Linked DNA regions of Homo sapiens: regions 1, 3 and 4 are each linked to region 2. The links are contacts of gene promoters, found by promoter capture Hi-C in blood cells and fetal thymus (Javierre and others, 2016). All regions are on one chromosome and are shown on one strand. Each heading gives the region's core, a stretch centred on a gene start or on the middle of the fragment in contact. The rest is flanking DNA. Distances are from core to core; before and after follow the strand shown. Region 1 overlaps GOLT1B (golgi transport 1B). Region 2 holds the start of SLC25A3 (solute carrier family 25 member 3). Region 3 holds the start of RAN (RAN, member RAS oncogene family). Region 4 holds the start of IRAG2 (inositol 1,4,5-triphosphate receptor associated 2).

The links. The method cuts DNA at HindIII sites, captures the fragments that hold promoters and counts their contacts. A CHiCAGO score of 5 or more calls a contact.
Region 1: a fragment that was not itself captured here is called in contact with the fragment with the promoter of SLC25A3 in region 2 in 1 of 17 cell types (total B cells); the score reaches 5.1 in total B cells.
Region 3: a contact is called between the fragment with the promoter of RAN here and the fragment with the promoter of SLC25A3 in region 2, in 1 of 17 cell types (naive CD8 T cells). The highest score is 6.8, in naive CD8 T cells.
Region 4: a contact is called between a fragment that was not itself captured here and the fragment with the promoter of SLC25A3 in region 2, in 1 of 17 cell types (total CD8 T cells). The highest score is 8.2, in total CD8 T cells.

What each region holds. Positions count from the first base shown.
Region 1 is chr12:21,507,454-21,510,594 of GRCh38, forward strand. It overlaps GOLT1B (golgi transport 1B), which reads left to right. Exons shown (of 5, transcript NM_016072.5): 3 at 930-1,108. Among named protein-coding and RNA genes, the nearest start is that of GOLT1B, 7.2 kb to the left of the region's middle. The HindIII fragment of the contact is 2,804 bases long and covers 207-3,010 here.
Region 2 is chr12:98,591,986-98,594,958 of GRCh38, forward strand. SLC25A3 (solute carrier family 25 member 3) reads left to right here and starts at 1,701. Exons shown (of 8, transcript NM_002635.4): 1 at 1,701-1,755; 2 at 1,990-2,150. The coding sequence starts at 1,994. RefSeq lists enhancers at 1,223-1,442, 1,491-2,115, 1,693-1,792, 2,116-2,740. The HindIII fragment of the contact is 3,126 bases long and covers 1,001-2,973 here.
Region 3 is chr12:130,870,259-130,873,451 of GRCh38, forward strand. RAN (RAN, member RAS oncogene family) reads left to right here and starts at 1,808. Exons shown (of 7, transcript NM_006325.5): 1 at 1,808-1,868; 2 at 2,326-2,371; 3 at 2,578-2,662; 4 at 2,745-2,870. The coding sequence starts at 2,336. RefSeq lists enhancers at 848-1,609, 1,033-1,112, 1,610-2,371 and silencers at 1,393-1,852, 1,923-2,062, 2,113-2,322. The HindIII fragment of the contact is 6,850 bases long and covers 741-3,193 here.
Region 4 is chr12:25,051,508-25,054,402 of GRCh38, forward strand. It overlaps IRAG2 (inositol 1,4,5-triphosphate receptor associated 2), which reads left to right and starts at 1,199. Exons shown (of 22, transcript NM_001366544.2): 1 at 1,199-1,449. RefSeq lists enhancers at 554-663, 704-1,073. The HindIII fragment of the contact is 1,768 bases long and covers 543-2,310 here.

The DNA.
Region 1 (3,141 bases), core at 359-2,858, about 77 Mb before region 2:
TGTGTGGAGGTTATGATCCAGAAATAAATAATAACCCTTCTAAGGTAGTGAAGACACTGTATGTGTGTGTGTGTGTATATATATATATACACACACACATATATATTTGGGCTTTTAACTGGAAATGGGAAAAGATAAAGAATAGCAAAATTGTTCAAAATTGATGTCTTAATAAATGATAATAGCATTAGTATCCTAGAATATGAAGCTTAACCATTAGGCTTAATATGTATTTGTGCGAAATATTTTTCACTAAAGAATGTTAATGGGGAGGGCAAGTATTTGGAAAGAAAACCTGGGGAAAGCAAGCTCTTAATCCATCACCATTTCTTGTCCACAGAATACATTCAAAATATTTGAAAACACATGGTTGTATTTTTATTTCTGCTGCCACCAGATATTCTAGAATTTATAAAACTAGAATCTTCTTGGCTTCACGTTGTTTCTTCTGCTATCAACTTAGCCATGTCAATATTTCTCCCATCCATAGAAACTCCTGTAGCCTATGATGAATATTTCAGAACCAAGAGGAATACCCTTGGGTGACATATTTATGGGCAGCTTTCCTCTTTATGCCTTGCCAACTCATCTGCTTGACTAAGCCTTCCTCATCCAGCTAAAACTAGGAAAACTACTGCAGACACAGATGCCCCTTGGTAACGTCTAATCTTTCTTTGTTTCTCTTTTTCTCCATTTAATCAAGATAGAAGAGGAATGAGACAAGTGGAACAAAGCTACAACTTTAAAATGCATAACCCACTCCTTGGTTCTGCTGCTTGGTTGTACATTACAGTTCTGTCTGGCCAGTTGCCCACATTAAAAGCCAAACAAATGTGCTTCTTTTTTTATATTTAGCTTTGACTTTACGTTTAAAATTTATGCATTGTGTTTAATTACCTTTTCCGTGTTGTATTTTCTTTCTCTTTTAGGTTTTATTTGTAGCCGGCTTGGCTTTTGTAATTGGTTTAGAAAGAACATTCAGATTCTTCTTCCAAAAACATAAAATGAAAGCTACAGGTTTTTTTCTGGGTGGTGTATTTGTAGTCCTTATTGGTTGGCCTTTGATAGGCATGATCTTCGAAATTTATGGATTTTTTCTCTTGTTCAGGTAAGGCATATTATTGTCTCTTTCAGTAAATCAGTGTGTCAGATAGTTAGTACAAAAACTCAGATATTTGCATCAGTTGGAGTAAGATGATGATCATTTCCTTAAATGGAATTTTATTTAGGTTGAATCTTATAGATTTAGATGAAGCAACTATAAAAATGTTTTATCACATGTGAATGATTGCCTAATGGTATAAATTATCTTGTTTTGTCAGCACAATAAAGTTTATTTTATTGGCATTTTAAGGCACCATCTTTATGTTGGATATTTGTATCAACTAAATAGTGGTAGGTAGGTCGGTCGATCGATCAATCGGTAGGTAGGTAGGTAGATAGATAGATAGATAGATAGATAGATAGATCCAGCATTTTGGTGTGTAGAATCTTATACTTCATAGCTACTGCTACTTGATGGAAATTTATTTAGCACATATACGTATTAGAAGATTGTTTACCAAATACACTACTATGGGAGATTTTGAGCAGGTAATATTTTGTAAATGCCAGTTAGCAGATAAACAATAGTATGTGTATATATCTATATGAAAATACCTTTGGCCAGGTGCGGTGGCTCACACCTGTAATCCCAGCACTTTGGGAGGCCGAGGTGGGCGGATCACCTGAGGTCAGGAGGTCAAGACCAGCCTGGCCAGCATGATGAAACCCCGTCTCTACTAAAAATTCAAAAATTAGCTGGCCATGCTGGCAGGCGCCTGTAATCCTAGCTACTCGGGAGGCTGAGGCAGGCGAATTGTTTGAACCTGGGAGGCGGAAGTTGCAGTGAGCCGATCACACCATTGCACTCCAGCCTAGGCAATAGAGCGAGACTCTGTCTCAAAAAAAAAAAAAAAAAAAAAAAAAAAACAGAAAAGAAAATAACTTTAAGTAGGGTTGAGCTTAATTATTTATTCCAGAAATGCATATCCTTTGTCTTCTGTCTGCCAGGCACTGTATTACCCACAGGAGACATAAAAATAAATTAAGTACCAAATCTGCTTTAGAAAATCTCTCATTTCTATTATGGAAAGTAGACTCTAAAAATACCAATAGGATATAGTCATAATGCCATTATAAATGTGTATGCAGAATATTGTGGAAGCATGATTAAAAAATTAGTAAATTCAAGGAGAGGTGAGAAATGTTAACTGATAAACTGGGCTTTGAAGAATGGGTAAGAATTTATCCTATAAACGAGAAAGGGAACGACAGTTAACAGAAGGAACAGACAGGGCCATAAAAACACACAGCTTGTTCTGAAAAGAATGAATACTCTTATAGAACAGGAGCATGTGATCAGTTGAAGGAAATGGTTGGTAATGAAACTGAAAATGAAGCCTGGAGCCAGGTTACAAACTTTCTTTGATGACTTGTTGAGAAAAGTATACCTTATCCTGTAACCAAATTTGGGCTGGGGGAGCAGTGTTTGGAGAAGGTCGGGGGAGTGGGGCACAGAGGTTTTTAAGCCAGAGGTGGTACAACAGGGTAGATGTTTTAGGAAGGTTGTTCTGATATCAGGATAAAGTAGGTATTAAAGAGAAAAACTGAAGTCAGGGGAGCCAGTCAAGAGGCGGTTAATACAGTACAGAATATACAGTGATAAGACTGGAATCTTGGAGTACTTTTGACATTTTAGGGTAGGTGGAGAAAAAGAAGAAAACACTAGAAGAGACTAGGAAAAGAGGTGGGAGAAGAACTAGGAGTAAAGATCATAGTGGCTAAGAGAGAAAAGAGTGAAGAAGAGTTTGTTTTGGCAGATGTATCTTGCAGCAGAAAACTTAAGCACCTTAAGAAGTAAGAAAATCATTGGCTTTCCCAGTTATGTGGGGGTTTTAGTAATGAAGGTTAAAAGCCAAAGCTGATCTTTGAGATGAATAAAAAATGGGAAGTCTTAGTATCATCGACAAGCTTGGAGTAATACACAGGTTTCGTGGTTTAGAGAGCTTTGTGGTATAAATACTAGTTTTTGTTGTTGGGTTTTGTTGTGTTCTGAGATATTCTGAGCTGGAGATTTAGTGCCAAGGGTCTTTGATGTTG
Region 2 (2,973 bases), core at 451-2,950:
GAGTCTTGCTCTGTCGCCCAGGCTGGAGTGCAGTGGCATGATCTCGGCTCACTGCAAGCTCTGCCTCCTGGGTTCACGCCATTCTCCTGCCTCAGTCTCCTCAGTAGCTGGGACTACAGGCGCCCGCCACCTCGCCCGGCTAATTTTTTGTATTTTTAGTAGAGACGGGGTTTCACCGTGTTAGCCAGGATGGTCTCGATCTCCTGACCCCGTGATCTGCCCGCCTCGGCCTCCCAAAGTGCTGGGATTACAGGCGTGAGCCACCTCGCCCGGCCAATGCTAACTTTTTTTAGGTAACATCTTCTGTAGACTTTTAGACATTATCTCATTGAGTTCTCATAGACTCTGCAAGGTAAGTATTACTCCCATCCAGAACCAGACACCTGATTTGCAGGGTCCAGTGCAAACTAAAAAAAGCGTGGCCCCTTGTTCATACATGTATTAAGAATTTCAAGCCGGGCATGGTGGCTCAGGCCTGTAATCCCAGCACATTGGGAGGCCGAGGTGGGCGGATCACCTGAGCTCAGGAGTTCGAGACCAGACTGGCCAACGTGACGAAACTCTGTCTCTACTAAAAATAGAAAACTTAGCCGGGCGTGGTTGTGCACGCCTGTAGTCCCAGCTACTCCGGGGGCTGAGACAGGAGAATCGCTTGAACCCGGGAGGCGGAGGTTGCGGTGAGCTGAGATCGCCCCACTGCACTCCAGCCTGGGCGACAGAGCAAGACTCCATCTCAAAAGAAAAAAAAAAAAAATCAAAATGACAGCAGAGCATTAAATGAAGTGTAAGGCCATGTGTGACTGTACCAGTGTGAACCTATGAGGCCAGTCCCACCCCTATCTTACATCTAGGGAACAGGTACACAGAGATGAAGTAAATTCCCAAGGTTACTTTGTCAAGAGCTTGGAAAATATAAGAGTCAGAAGTCTAACAGGTTGAATCCCTATTAAACTCTCCCCAACTAAACTACGCCCCTCCCTGTTGAGCTGAATCTAATGAAAGCTTCCTAAATGTATTAACCACACACACGCACAATCTGCTATCAGTCACTTTCAGTAGTTCATCGCTGTAACATCTCAGGAGTTCAATGTTTCAACGTGTTCTGTAGATTACTGTGATAACGCGGCAAGCTGTCGTAAGACTTCTTGCTGCACATTTCTTTTTAAAATATTCTCCAGGAGTCTGATGAAAAATACAGACATACCTATGTTTAATGTCAATGGATGGAACTTATTTTAAAAAGTACTGTAATGGCAGAAGTTGTGACACAAAGTACTGCAGTGATGTTGTAACTCCAACACCTAAATATATTATCAAGCATTCGCGTTTTGTTTTGTTTTTTAAGTGACTACTAGATACTGTGATTCACTTAAGTGAAGCGAACTGAAGCCCGTGGTCAAGGAGAGACACCTGAAGGTGAAGGGACAAAGCGAGCAGGGTAAGAGCTCGAGCCCGACCCCTCTCAAAAAATATAGACCCGGAACGCGCGCCTGCGCAGAACGAATCCTCCCGCGCACAAGCCGGGCGGAAGAGCTGGGGCGGGCAGGGGCGGGAATAAGGTTGCTAGGAGAACGCGATGACGCTACGGGCTCGGCGCTCTTCTCCACCAATGGGCGACGCGTACTTGCAGTGGCGCGCTGTGTGCGTCACGCCGACGACGCGCGAAGGGCACACATCTTAGGACCCGGAGGACGTCCGGCCTCTGTGAGCCGCAACCTTTCCAAGGGAGTGGTTGTGTGATCGCCATCTTAGGGAGTGAGTGTGGCCGGGCCTTCTCCTGTGGCGGGTGTGGGGAGCGGAGCCCAGAGCTCCTGTGGGGCCGCTGCTTTGGCGGTGGGCCCAGCCGGGAGCAGCCTCTTTCGAAGGCCGCCGTGACCTCTTCAAGGGCGTGGAGACGGGAAGGAAAAGGCCCCGGTTGGGGTTCCAGGGCGCCGGTAACGTTAACCGGCGCCTTGCCTGTCCTCTAACCGTCGCTCCCTCCTCCCCTAGAAAGATGTTCTCGTCCGTGGCGCACCTGGCGCGGGCGAACCCCTTCAACACGCCACATCTGCAGCTGGTGCACGATGGTCTCGGGGACCTCCGCAGCAGCTCCCCAGGGCCCACGGGCCAGCCCCGCCGCCCTCGCAACCTGGCAGCCGCCGCCGTGGAAGGTGAGATCAGACCCTGCCCAATACAGTCGTGTGGTCTACTTGTGGGCCGCCCAGCCTTTGAGGCCTGGACCCGGCTTGGAGGACAGGGAAGGACGAGTCCAGCCCGCTGCACCGTAGGACGGCGCCCAGTTGCTTGCCCTGGGGTATCGGCCTTTTCCACCATAGGCGGGTGTCAGATCCTTGGCCTTCCCTCAAGGGCGTGGAAGCGCTGAGGCCCTGTGTCCCTTCGTGACCTCCGTGTGCCCGAGGGAAGAGAGGCCGTGACTAGCTCTTTCTCCGCCGTGAGCTCGCTTGGTCAGCAAACTAAGTACTGGGTAAACTCTCCTCCCGAAACTACTGACCACCCACAGTTCTACTAACTATATTACCTGTCCTTTGATTTGCCCTTAGTTTTCTTAAAAATAGTCCTTTCCTAAGTTTTATATTTGTCGACGCCAGGTCAGTCATTTTTGCACTTAATTGTATATGAGATAACTAGATGTCCTGTTTTCGTGCGACTGGAGGAGGCAGCTTGCAGCCCTACATAGGCAATAGAAAGGAGATAATTGGTGGGCGTCCCTTTGGTGTGATTATCTCTTGGGATTCTTGGTGGTTGGGCCCAGCTTTAACTTAGTTGTGTGTGTTTTAAATCCTAGTGAAGTATGTACATACAGAGAAACCTGAAAACCGAATTGTAGGAGTCCTAAGAATGTTATCTACCTTGTGCCTGTAAAATCGAAAGATTTTTTTCTTTAAATCATTCATGTGCTTCTGTTGTCTTTAGTATGGATAGAGTCCTTATTTACACTATCTGTCGTTCAGTTTAAAAGTTAAAGCTAACATT
Region 3 (3,193 bases), core at 558-3,057, about 32 Mb after region 2:
TAAAAAATATACATAAATGACATTATACTATATATATAATCCCTCTAGATAAAGTTACATATAGTGTTAGGTTTTATGTATTAATTTTTGAAAACAGGGTCTTGCTCTGTCTCCCAGGCTGGAGTGCAATGGTGAGATCATTGCCCATTGCAGCCTGTAACTCCTGGGTTTAAGGGATCCTCCTACCTCGGACTCCCAAAGTGCTGGGATTACAGGTGGCCTAGACTTTATAAAGCTGTTATCACCTCTTTCTTCTTTTCTCAACACTATCCTTTTGACATCTATCTAACCCTGTTGAAACAGATGACCGTCATTCCTTTTAAATGTTATACAGTATTAAATGTTGTGCACATGCGTGAGGCATGAGTTTAACTCTGGGGCCTCTCCCTAGAAATGGAAATCCGGGGTCACAAGCAATGGGCATTCCCGTTTTACTGTTAGATTCTGCTCTCCCGCCAGCAGCGTCTGAGAGGTGCTTGGGGTTCCCCTGAGGGTTCTGGGGGAGCTCGGACTTGCGTTCCCAGCAGGCCGGTTGTCGCCTGCTTTGTGCCTAATTTGCGTCACTGGGGTTCCTAGCGGACTCGCCTGCAAGTGTGCTCAGGACTGCAGGGAGGACTCTTCGGTCACTGCGGCTCTCTCCCCATGGTGGACTCTTCTGAGGCGCTTGACTGCGCTGATTTGGGCCTTTATCTGTCTGCATGTCGGCAGGGGCGCCCAGGAAGTCGGGTCCCTCTAGCTCAAGCTTGTTTGGGCTCTTACAGCTTCAGGCCAACAGGGGGCTGGGAAGCTGAGCACTTACTCATTCCGTCCCCGTTGGTAACTAGGGCTGGTAGACGCGTCCAGACTGCAAACAGTATTTCATCATTTTGTCTGTAGCATGCAGCGGCCAAAGCTGCCAACCTATGAAACGCTTTGAGAAGCCGGACGCTTTGGGAGGCCGAGGCGGGTGGATCCCCTGAGGCCAGCCTGGGAGACATAGTTAGATTCTGTCTCTCAAAAAAATTTTTAAAAAATTACCCCTGATGTGGTGCGCGCCTGTAGTCCCAGCTACTCGGGAGGCTGAGGCGGGAGGATCGCCCGAGCCTGAGAGTTCGAGACCAGCCTGGGCAACGTAGCGAGACTCCGTCTCTTAAAAAAAATAAGTAGCCGTTTTTCTGGGTGGGTGCATCCCTCTCTGGTTCCTCGCTCTCCAACTGGCCCTGGTCCTGGGGGCGTGAAGGCTACGATCTGGAGAGACAGAACAGCGGGCTGCCTCTGGAGGACGGGCCTAGACCCCATTCATTCATTCATTCGTTCTGTCACCCACCCGTCCTGCGCGCACGCGAGCCACCCTAAGCCCCAGGACCTCAAGAACCCCCACCCCACGGGGCACAGACAAGGACAGGCTGGCCAGCGCCTGGAAGCCGCGTGCCTGACCACGTCTGCCCGAGCGAGTACCGCCTCCCACCCGGGAGGCAGGAGAGCCGCGACCGTCGGGCCGCGCCCAACGTCTCCCGCTCAGGGGCGCGCCGCCTCGCTTTCAGCGCATGCGCGCCCGGGAGCCCGCCCGGGGCGTCGGCGCACGCGGTCCCCACCGGCCGGCTTGCGTACGCGCTCCCGGCTCGCCCTCCCACGCGGTCCACCGCGCCTCCCGCCCCACCCTAAGCGCAGCGACCGCCCGAGCGGCCGACCGAACCGCGTTGCGTGCGTGCGCGCACGCGCGGGCCACGTGGGCGGGCGCCGCGCCGTTGCCCCGCCCCTTGCAACCCCGCCCCGCGCCGGCCCCGCCCCTGCTCTCGCGCCGGCGTCGGCTGCGTCTCCGGCGTTTGAATTGCGCTTCCGCCATCTTTCCAGCCTCAGTCGGACGGGCGCGGAGACGCTTCTGGAAGGTATCGCGACCCGGCGGGCCCGGCACGGCCGGGCGGGGACAGGGGTGGCGGCGGCGGGATAGGGGTCGGAGCCGGGGCCAGGGCCGGGGCGGGTGGCGGACCCAGGGGCAGCGGGCGGCTGAGTAGGTGGGTGGTGCGGGCCCGGCCGGGCCGGGGCAGGAGACGGGCGTGGGGTCGGCGCTAGCCCCCGCGAACCCCCGTTTCATCCTCCGCTCTCATCCCCGTCCCGGTCCCAGTCCCGTTCCCATCCCTACACCTCCGGCCGCCGTTCCCCGGGCCCCGCCGCCCCGGATGCCGGCCCCGCCCGCCGCCTTCCCGCTCCCAGGCCTGGCCGCCATGGCGCCGCGGGCGGGAGGCCTTTGTGGGGCGGGCACGTGGGGCGCTGGGGGCGCGGGAGCGGGGCCGCCATGGGCTGCGGGGCCGCGCGAGCGCTCGCCTCCGTCCTCTGCCTCCGCAGGAACGCCGCGATGGCTGCGCAGGGAGAGCCCCAGGTCCAGTTCAAAGTAGGTAACCCTGCGGGGCGGGAGGCGGCCGAGCCCGACCGCGTGCGACTCGCGGGTCCCTCCTCCTGGGGCCACGATGGCTGTAATGGGGCCCCGCATCCACATTCTTTGTTTTAAGTGAGCCTGTGGTGGTTAAAGTTCCGTGACTCTGGGATCTTGAGAGGTGAAGTGTTTAGGGTTTACTTCCAAAATGTGTTTTTCAACAGCTTGTATTGGTTGGTGATGGTGGTACTGGAAAAACGACCTTCGTGAAACGTCATTTGACTGGTGAATTTGAGAAGAAGTATGTAGGTATGTGCTGGAAAACCTTGCTTGTGGAAATATGTGAGAAATGGGTAAGTTCATCCACTCAATCGCATCGTTTCCGTTTCAGCCACCTTGGGTGTTGAGGTTCATCCCCTAGTGTTCCACACCAACAGAGGACCTATTAAGTTCAATGTATGGGACACAGCCGGCCAGGAGAAATTCGGTGGACTGAGAGATGGCTATTATATCCAAGGTAGGCATTTGTAACTTGCTGAACGGTTTTTGAGAGGTTTTGTGTACTTCAGTCTTCAAGGTTATAGAAAATCAGGTCTGTTCCAACAAATAGTGTCATTTTTGGGTTAAAAAAAGACAAGTGGACTTCGGGGAGTTGACCACCATTTTGGTGGCAGAGAAAATTTTATTAAAGTTGTGTCATTTGCATGCTGTGTCATGCTAGGCATGCTTTAGAAAAAACTATGACTTACACTGGGACTTATAAGTCATATTTAAAACAATAATAGGCTGTTAACAGCAGTTTCAGTATTTGGAAACTTAGGTTCATGTATGTATTTTGGT
Region 4 (2,895 bases), core at 177-2,676, about 74 Mb before region 2:
CATGTAACACACATTAAATAATCTCATCTGCTAACAGAGAGTAAGTGCATTTTTACATGTTTTAGAGATTAGAATTGGATCCAAATGAGGTGTAACGTAATGGCACCATGAGATCTGTGGTGGGGAAGGGTGATGGGGAGAAAAGCTTCAGCAAAAAGAGGACTAAAGTAGAAATATCAACCGCCAGCTTTCATCTGTGCCTGGGGGCGGTCCTTCCTGTGCTCGTGGCACGTGTTTATACTATGATTGACAACCCTTAAGGAGAAAGGCTAAGGTCATGAAACAAAGCTCTCTTTCCTTTTCTTTTCCCTCCCCCTACCTTTACCCCATTCCTTTCTTTTTCTGTAAAAGCTAGCTGTGATGTGTAAATGTTGCACCTGTCACCCTGACCTCATTGTAGAGCCATCTTCTGAGTAACTGGCAACTGGCAACTGATGCTAAGTGCTATGAATGCAGCTGGTGGGAACTGAACACACCAGTGTAAAAGATGAAACTAGAAGTCCTTATCTGTAAAGTGAGGGTGTCAGGCTAAGCGACCAATAAGCTTTGCTTAAGATTTTATATTTGTGAAGCATTTATATGTAAATACTTTCACTTTTTCCTCTGATCTCTAAGGAAGTGGTGTTAAGTTTGAGTTTGTCATAATTTCACAGGGTGACTCTTAGTTGAAATGTCACTGACAGCTTGCGGTTTGGACTTTTTTTTTTTTTTTTTTTTTTAACTCCAGTCAGAAACAACTAGAAGCCATTAAACAACTACAGGAAGATGCTGTCAACCAGGAAGGCATCCTTAGGAAGAGGCTCCAAGAAACCAGCCAACGGCTGGAGGATGTGGAGGAGCAGGTAGGGTGGCTCATGGCTACATTAGATTCAGGGGACATCTCCTCAGATGCCCTGCAAACCATGAAATAAAAATGGAGGAGGAACAACAACAACAAACAAAAAAAAAAAGCAAAGAGGAACTGCAAGTTCAGTCCCTAGCGACTAACAGTGAGCAGAGGAAGTAAAGGGGGAGTTGTAAGAGAGGCGGTATCAACAGCCTGCTGATGAAAGAGGCGACTCTGCAGAAAGAGGCAACTTGACATATCAGGACTTTAACCGCTGTAGAAATAGCTCAGGCATACCAAGCCCATGCAAACACAGAATTGCAGAAGTTCAGGAGAGGCTTATCACTTCCCTGAGAAGAAAAACACATTTTCAGTTTTGCCTGCATCATAAGAGTGAGCACTCCATTGCTTTCTTTCCTGGCCACACTGCTACAATCCAGCACTAACTATCCATGTCCAGGGTAAGGATCGAGATCGAGAAGCCCACACTGCCAGTGAAAAAGCTACGTCTTTACTGCATAAATTAGAGGAAGCAATTTCGGAACAACGGAACCTTCAAACTATAAATACTGAATTATCGAACACTTGCCAGGCACTTCAGCAGAAGACAAGGAAACTGAAGAGTGAGTAGCAAATATTCATTTATGACCCAGTTTTTGTCCACCCTCAGGCGGGGCATAGGACTACAGACATTTTTCTAGATTACAGCTAGGATATTATTCCTGAGTTTATGACAATGAAATGGTTTGAGAAGGCAATATTGTGGGGCTTTCAGAGAGGTTTGCTGAGTGGCTAGGTGCATGCATGGGTTTAACCATTAACTTCCCTTTTTGCCTTTTTATTATAAGCTGGTTTTGTCTGTGGCTGTTTTTTTCTTTTAAAATTAATTAAAACTTCTCAAAATTTCTAAAAGTAAACAAGGAGAAAAATCTAGTATGCATGGTATATTTGAACTTGCAAGTTGTTATATATTATACTCTGATTTTATTAGCTAGTTTTTTTCCTCTCATATGGTAGAAAAGGCCTTGCTCGTCTATTTTCTTTGGAAATTTTAGGGGGTTGGGCAAAATAATTATGAATTCAGTGTATATCAAAATATCAAATGTGTGAAAATTCTTTTAAAGTTTTAATGCATTCTCTACATACATCTACATACATATTTTGCATTTTAAAAATTGGAATATTTGTCATTTTTCTGTATTACCCAAAAGTATATAAACAGTTACCAGAGATTTATGTGAGAAGACAGTTGTCACATTACAGATGTCAGATTAGCTATAAAATTGTTTCATTCTAGAAACCTAATATGGTAAAAATAAACCTTACTTATTTAGCCATTTATCAGACAATTGCTTTTGTTCAGCCAGTTTCTTGTTCTAGCAGTATAAATATTCTTTTTATAGAAAGTTACTTGGTTTGAGAAATAAACATTGTTTATTTGTTAATTGTTATATAATTATAAATAATTATATATTTAATATATAAGCTTAAGGTAGGCTAGAGATGAAAAATTTCAGACTTGTGTTTGTTTTGGATTTATTGTACCCTTTCTACTATTATCTGAGAAAGCTATTTAGGAGTTTAAGAAATAGTCTAGTTTTAAAATAGCAATGGTTTGCCGGACACAGTGGCTCACCCCTGTAATCCCAGCATTTTGGGAGGCCGAGGTGGGCAGATTGCTTGAGCCCAGGAGTTTGAGACCAGCCTGGACAACATGGTGAAACCCTGTCTCTACAAAAATTACAAACAAATAAATAAATAAAACATTAAAATAGCAGTGGTTATTCAACATATTATTGTCATAATTTTTAAACCTTTATTGAATTTGCCAGTTTTCAATATTCTGATTCACTCTGTTAAGCTAGTAAGGCAGTCTTTAAATTACACAGTCTGTGTGTTATTTTACTACTGCTCAGAGGGCATTGGAGAAGGTTCCCTTGTGATTAGAACTGTTCATGTTGAGACATGAATCATAAGGCATTCCAAAGTTGGTTTAAGGTGTGTCTGCTTTAGACACTGTGCCCAGGACTATTCTTTTGCTCCAGTTTTGCCTTTTGATTAAATCAATA